Regions from separate parts of the Homo sapiens genome. Here region 1 is linked to region 2. The links are contacts of gene promoters, found by promoter capture Hi-C in human tissues and cell types (Jung and others, 2019). All regions are on one chromosome and are shown on one strand. The core of a region is centred on a gene start or on the middle of the fragment in contact, and the rest is flanking DNA. Distances in the headings are between cores, read along the strand shown. Region 1 has its middle 12 kb from the start of ITPRIPL2. Region 2 holds the start of TMC7 (transmembrane channel like 7).

Region 1 (3,777 bases), core at 646-3,145, 120 kb before region 2:
AGTCCCATGCTAATTGTGATTTCTAATTAAGTGTATTTTCAAATATATTATAAGTTGCTTTGAGAGCAGGGTCCATGTCTGTCTTATAGGTACTCAATTACCTATAAGACCAACAGAACAAAAGAAGGAATGAATCTTATTTCAGTAGTCCAGCAAAGTAGCCCTGGATTGCTAAAGAACCTTTCATTAGAAAAATGCTCTTCCGGCTAGGCACGGTGCCTCACACCTATAATCCCAGCACTTTGGGAGGCCAAGGTGGGCGGATCACCTGAAGTCGGGAGTTTGAGACCAGCCTGACCAACTTGGAGAAATCCCATATCTACTAAAAATACAAAATTAGCTGGATGCAGTGGTGCATGTCTGTAATCCCAGCCACTTGGGATGCTGAGGCAGGAGAATCACTTGAACCCAGGAGGGAGAGGTTGCAGTGAGTGGAGATTGTGCCATTGCACTCCAGCCTGGTCAATGAGAGTTAAACTCTGTCTGAAAAAAAAAAAATGAAAAGAAAAGAAAGAAAGAAAAATGCTCTTCCCTGGTCTCTATTTTAGAGGCCACTGTCTCTATAAGAGTCATGAATAATGAAACCAACATCAGTCAAAGGAAAGCTTTGGTGTGGCAGAGATGAAGGGCCATGAGAGAGCTAATGAGTCTGTAATGCAATTTGGTGCCAATAAACTGGTACGATATTAACTCCAAGGCCATGAGATTTACACTATAAAGCCAACACAATTAAAGACTGAGAACCCGATCCCCCACCTGGTCCAGTTCTTCTAGTTCGAGTCATTTTATGGACGCCGACTTCCCGCTGACATTGTCTGGTGATGTCATGGTGAGAATTTTGACAGTCATTAAATTTCTGCCTGGAGGGCCAACGGGACCAAAGAAACTCAGATGTGAGTAGGACATAAAGCTACCGAGGGCAGAAAGCCGTTGTCTACAAAGTTAACATGTCAAACACAAGACCCCCTCTTCCTGGTCTCCTGCTAGCATTGTGGTGATGAGAGCCAGCTGTCTTGAACATTTACTAGGGGACAGGCAGTGTTCTAATTAGGCACTTGATTTAACTCATTCAGCCCTCCCGGCAAAGAACAACGTTATGGGCCAGGTGCGGTGGCTCACACGTAATCCCAGCACTTTGGGAGGCCTAGGCGGGCAGATCACGAGGCCGGGAGTTCAAGACCAGCCTGACTAACATGGTGAAACCCCATCTCTACTAAATATACAAAAATTAGCCAGGCATTGTGGCGTGCGCCTGTAATCCCAGCTATTCAGGAGACTGAGGCAGGAGAATCACTTGAACTGGGAGGTGCAGGTTGCAGTGAGCTGACATCACACCACTGCACTCCACCCTGGGCAACAGAGCGAGACTCTATCTCAAAAAAAAAAAAAAAAAAAAAAGAACAACTTTATGGACATGCACCACCACTCCCCACTAATTTTTTAATTTTTTAAAGAGAAGAGGCCTCACGCTGTTGCTCAGACTGGTCTCAAACTCCTGAACTCAAGTGATCCTCCTACCTTGCCTCTCAAAGTGCTGGGATTATAGGCATGAGCCACCTTGCTGGCCGTAGGTTCTATCTTTATCCCCATTTTGCAGACAGGGAAACTAAGGCATAGCCAGGATACATACATTGTATGAGATCAGGCAGCCAGATTCAAACCTATGCTTCCTACATTATACCTTTAATCACCCTAAACACTGCTTCAAGAAAGTTTTTCCAAATAAATGTCTGATGCTTTTTTTCCATGGTTTGAGGCAAGAGGAACAAAATAAGACATATGATGGGATTTTTTTTTTTGTAAAGCTCAATTTACAGTGGAGTCTCATCTTACAGGTCAGGGACATTTCTAAGTCAGCACATAGAAAATAAAATGTGTATTTACTTCAAATTACCTTTGTTCTATCAGTGTAGGAGTTTGAATTACAATTTGTCAAAACTTATTGAATGGTCCACTTTAGACTTGTGTGTTTCACGGTATCTAGATTTGATCTCAAAAAATCATAAACACGTATTGGATTCTAGCGAGTGATGTGCATGCTGAAGGGGTTACGGGTGAAGTATACTGACCTCAACAATTGCTTTTAACATGCATCAAAAAATAAGATGAATTGATGAGTGGAGAGGGGGTGGATAAAGGAATCGACATGAGATAAGGCCAGTTGAGTTCAACGTTAATGGTAGAATCTAGGTTGTGGGTATATGGGTGTTCACTACACAGTTCCTTCCATTTCTCTCTGTTTGGGGAAAAATGTAAATATAATGTTAAGGGAGAATGATCAGTTGAGCATTTGATGAAGAAGTTGGTTTGAGTTTAGGAGCCAAGTTGTGTGAATAATATATACCTTTAAACACTCAGCAAAGTGTGATGCTCACAATGTAAGATAATGTCAGACCAGCAATGGAGACTGGGAAATGTAGTCTATCCTGGATTCCATGTGTCCTGCTAAATGTAAGTGTTTCATTAGCATAAAAAAGAAAAAAAAGCAAATATTGAGGGACATGATCCCTTTACATCAGTAAAAAGATGAGGGAGATTGCCAACACTATTCAAAGCGTTTGCGGCTGGGTGTGGTGGCTCAAGCCTGTAATCCCATCACTTTGGGAGGCCAAGGCAGGAAGATCACTTGAGCTCAGGAGTTTGAGACCAACCTAAGCAACATGGCAGAACCTGTCTCTACAAAAAAATACAAAAATTAGCTGGGTGCAGTGGTGTGTGCCTGGAATCCCAGCTACTCAGGAGGCTGAGGTGGGAGGATCCCTTGAGCCCAGGAGGTTGAGGCTGCAGTGAGCTGTGATTGCACCACTGCACTCAAGCCTGGATGACAGAGTGAGAATCTATCTATCTATACATACATACATACATACACACATACATAAAATAAAGCATTCTCTTCCCACCCCAGAGCATTTTTGTTTGGGTAGCTGAATCCCAATAATTTAAATCTGTATGGGATGTGGTTTCAGTATAGTTATTTCAAAAATCTGTTCTTTTTGGATAATTTGCTCCAGAAGAAGACAGCTGTCCTGTTGTGAGGGCACTCAAGGACCCCTGTGAGGAGGCCCACATGCTGAAAAACTGAAGCTGCCTGCCAACAATCAGCACTAACGTGCTCGGTGTGTGCTGAGCCATACTGGAATCACTTCTGCCAGCCTCAGTCAAGCCTTCAGATAATGCAGCCTCAGCTGAGATCTTGACTGCAACTTCATGAGAGATCTTGAGCTAGAGCCACTCAGTGAAGCTGCTTCTAGGCTTCTGACCCACAAAAACTGCGTGAGATAATAAATGTTTATTGTTTTAAGCCACTAAAAAAAATAAGAATATATACTTCCACTCTGTTGGACATGAAAATAACCATTTTCTTCTAGGGGAAAACTGATACTAATGACAGTCAAAGCAGCTTCTCTTCTCTCCTTAAGTCCTAACTTAGTAAAATGAAAAGTTGGCAATTCTAGGTTAATCCCTCAAATACTTTACCTTCTGCCACTCAAAAATGTGGACAGGGCTTTTGTCTGCTTTGTTCCTTGTTACCTATCCAGTGCCTGGCATAGATAGTCACTCAATATATAAATAATTGTTGAATTAATTTTAATGCTTCATGAAATCTAAAACATTGAGGGAAAGAAAAACCTGCATCAACACACCAGAAGTCACTAAGTCATTACTAAATACATGGATGGTTAGACAGATGTCCCTAAACTATAGCCCAGCCACACACAACCTGTGACTATGTGTCCATAGACATAGTTGTCACGACCTCCCAACCAGCAGGAACAG
Region 2 (3,915 bases), core at 34-2,533:
CGCAATCTCGGCTCACTGCAACCTCCGCCTCCCGGGTTCAAGCTATTCTCTGCCTCAGCCTCCCAAGTAGCTGGGATTACAAGCACCCACCACCACTCCTGGCTAATTTTTGTATCTTCAGTAGAGATGGGGTTTCACCATCTTGGCCAGGCTGGTCTTGAACTCCTGACCTCGTGATCCACCCGCCTCAGCCTCCCAAAGTGCTGGGATTACAGGCGTGAGCCACCACGCCCGGCCCTACATCCTTGGTTTCAGTAAATCTCTATTCTAAAACTGAAAAAGAGAAAACATTGCAGATAAAACTTTACAGCAGGGTCTTGTGTTTTGTTCAGGACAAGATTCGTAAGCTCCAAATGCTACAAGGAACCCTGCCTGAGTGCTGGCAACTTTTTTATCCTGACTGGGCAGCCGTTGTACATATTTCTGTAGAAATTCATGGAGCTGTATACTTTACTGTAATTCTACCCGATACAAAAGATTATAATACTTGGCTGGCTACCATTTATTGTGACTGTCTAGCCACAATGCCAGGCACTGTGCTAGACACATCACACGATTCTCAGCTAATCCCCGCCCCATTCTATTCCCATTTTACTGCTGAAGGATCTGAGGCTCAGAGAAGGCAAGCCACTTACCAAAGGTCCCACAGCAATAAACAGACAAGGCAGAATTCGGTTTCAAGTTGGTCTAACTGTATGTGAAGGCTGAAATGTCCGGGAGGCAGGCACCTCATACCAGAATGTTAGGCGTGGAGGGGGTGCTCAAATCCTTTCATTTAACAGCAGATGAGGCTATTGAAAGACTGTCTCGGTCAACAGCTGGAAGACAAACCCACCACGGTCCAGACTGCAGTTCTCGTGTCCTTTTGGCCCGGCTGGGTTCCACTGGATTGGATGAGGACGCGTTTGTGGAGGGAGCAGGAATAAGGAAGATCTCCTTCCCACCTGCTGTTCCCCAGAGCCGGGAGCACCCGGCGTCGGGGGTGGGAGGGAACAGCGGCCAGGCCGAGCCTCCAGCACCCGGCTCCCTCCGTGCGCCCTCGGACCCCAGGGGCACCGTCCCCGCGCGCGCTCCCTGCCGCCCTACCTGGATGGACCGCCGGCTGCCGGCTGGGCCTGCCGGGCTGGAGCGCACTGCCGCTGGACTCGCTCATGGCCGCGCCCCGCGCTCCTCAGAGGCTGCCGAGGACCCTCTCCAGCCGCCGCCGCCGCCGCCGCCTCCCCGGCCTTCCCTCGCGGAGCCGGGATTCCAGGTTCCGGCGCTGACATCACAGAAGCCGGAGTGGGGCGCCCCCGCGAGGAGCCGAGCATCAGGGACCGCAGAGGGGCTGCAGAGCCCGGGAGATCCGGCAAGGCTCCATCCAGCGGTGGCGACAAGCAGCGACCTCCCTGATGTCTCACTGAGCTTAAAAAATAACAATAGATTGGGCGCACTGGGAGCCCAGTCTCCACCAGGACCCGGTACACCCATGTAACAAACATGCACATGGACCCCCTGCATCTAAAATCAAACCTGATCTAATAAAGAAATAAATAACAAAAATAACTGGTTGGGAGTGGTGGCTCACGTCTGTAATCCTCGCATTTTGGGAGTCCGAGGCTGGAGGACCGCACGAACTCACAAGTTTGAGACCAACCTGGCCAACACAGTGAGACCCCCATCTTTAAAATTAAAAAATAAAAAGTCCACACGCAAAAAACCCCAAGACTCCAAATCAGTGCATCTAGTAAGTTACCATTTGGGAACAAAAAGGAAACCAAAAAATATATTTGTACATGCTTGTAAATGCCTAAGCTATCTCCCTAGAGGGTGCAAAAAACTGGCTACCTGTGGTAGCTCTGGGTGGGGAGCTAGAGGGCCGAGTGAAGAGAAAACCACGTGCAGTGTTTGTCTTTTACGTTTTGCACTATATCCTCGTTTCATCTCTACCTCTGTTCGTGTGCAGGTTAAAAACATAAAATTGCCAGGCGCAGTGGCTCACACCTGTAATCTCACCACTTTGAGAGGCCGAGGCGGGAGGATCACCTGAGGTCAGGAGTTCGAGACTATCCTGGCCAACACGGTGAAACCCTGTCTCTACTAAAAATACAAAATTAGCCTGGCATGGTAGTGCATGCCTGTAGTCCCAGCTACCAGGGAGGCTGAGGCAGGAGAATCGCTGGAACCCAGGAGGCAGAGGTTGCAGTGAGCCGAGATCACGCCACTGCACTCCAGCCTGGGCGACAGAAGGAGACTCCATCTCAGAAAAAAAAAGAAAAAGAAAAGTAATTGCTAAATATAAATAAATGGGGAAAATGGAGAGAAATCTCCTGTGCAGATTTTGAAATCATTTACGTAGATACTTTAAGGATGGGGAGCTTAGCTCCCTACTCCTTAAGTGTGAGTTGCCCATAGCGACATCCTTCCAAAAGAGTGCAGTATGGAAGTGGTGGTGGAAGAGGGTGAGGGTGGGTTTTATATTAGATAATACCTGACAAACACTGTCTCAGACAGATGATCAAAGTTAACATCATCCGGGATCAGTGGCTCACACCTGTAATCCCAGCACTTTGGGAGGCCGAGGCAGGTGGATCACTTGAGGTCAGGAGTTCGAGACCAGCCTGGCCAACATGGCGAAACCCTGTCTCTACCAAAAATACAAAAAAATTAGCTGGGCATGGTGGCGGGCGCCTGTAATCCCAGCTACTAGGGAGGCTGAGGCAGGAGAATCTCTTGAACCCAGGAGGCGGAGGTTGCAGTGAGTCGAGATTGCACTACTGCACTCCAGCCTGGGCAACAGAGTAAGACTCCATCTCAAAAAAAAAAAGTAAATAAGTAAATAAGTTAACATCAACATTAAGCCATGAGGATGGTGTGCACCCTTCCTACGATGGGATGAGAAGGGCACTTTACCTCTGTGGTCATAAGAAAAATATCAGACAAATTCAACTGAGGGGCATTCTACAGAATACCTGATTAGTATTCCTCAAAACTGTCAAGGTCATTTAAAAAAAAAAAAAAAGGAGGCTGGAGACTGGGTGTGGTGGCTCATGCCTGTAATCCCAGCACTTTGGGAGGCCAAGGCAGGTGGATCGCAAGGTCAGGAGTTCGAGACCAGCCTGGCCAAGATGGTGAAACCCTGTCTCTACTAAAAAAAATACAAAAAATTAGCTGTGTATGGTGGTGGGCACCTGTAACCCCAGCTACTCAGGAGGCTGAGGCAGAGAATTGCTTGAACCCAGGAAGCGGAGCTTGCAGTGAGCCGAGATTGTGCCACTGCACTCCAGCCTGAGCAACAGAGTGAGACTCCGTCTCAAAAAAAAAAAAGGCTGGACGCAGTGGCTCATGCCTATAATCCCAGCACTTTAGAAGGCTGAGGTAGGAGGATGGCTTGAGCCCAGGAGTTGGAGACTAGCCTGAGCAACACAGTGAGACCCCATCTCTCCAAAAAATTTTAAAAATTATCTGAATGTGGTGGTGCACGCCTATAATCTGAGCTACTCAGTTCCTGGAACACAAGTTAAAACACATTAAAAACTATGGAAATCTTAATAAAGTAGGGACTTCAGTTAATAGTCATGTATCACTCTTGGTTCATTAATTGTGAGAAATGTACCATATTGATGTAGGATGTTAATAGTAGGGGAAACTGGGCGTGGGCCATGTGAAAACTCACTATCTTATCCTCAAAGGTTTTCTGTAGATCCAAAACTATTCCAAAACAGAAAATTATGTGTGTGGGTAAGTAATTTCCTGGCTCAAAATAAAAGCTATTTTTTATTTATTTATTTATTTTGAGACAGAGTCTCACTCTGTTGCCCAGGCTGGCGGCAGTGGCACAGTCTTGGCTCACTGCAACCTCTGCCTCCCAGGTTCAAGCAATTCTCCTGCCTCAGCCTCCCGAGTAGCTGGGATTACAGGCACCTGCCACCATAC

What was found. The method cuts DNA at HindIII sites, captures the fragments that hold promoters and counts their contacts. A contact is called where the count stands out against the background at its distance.
Region 1: a fragment that was not itself captured here is called in contact with the fragment with the promoter of TMC7 in region 2 in 2 of the 25 tissues and cell types used here (heart left ventricle and small bowel).

What each region holds. Positions count from the first base shown.
Region 1 is chr16:19,099,617-19,103,393 of GRCh38, reverse strand. No RefSeq gene overlaps it. Among named protein-coding and RNA genes, the nearest start is that of ITPRIPL2, 12 kb to the left of the region's middle. The HindIII fragment of the contact is 4,773 bases long and covers 1-3,777 here.
Region 2 is chr16:18,981,302-18,985,216 of GRCh38, reverse strand. It overlaps TMC7 (transmembrane channel like 7), which reads right to left and starts at 1,283. Exons shown (of 16, transcript NM_024847.4): 1 at 1,087-1,283. The coding sequence starts at 1,153. RefSeq lists a silencer at 1,313-1,372. The HindIII fragment of the contact is 36,131 bases long and covers 1-3,915 here.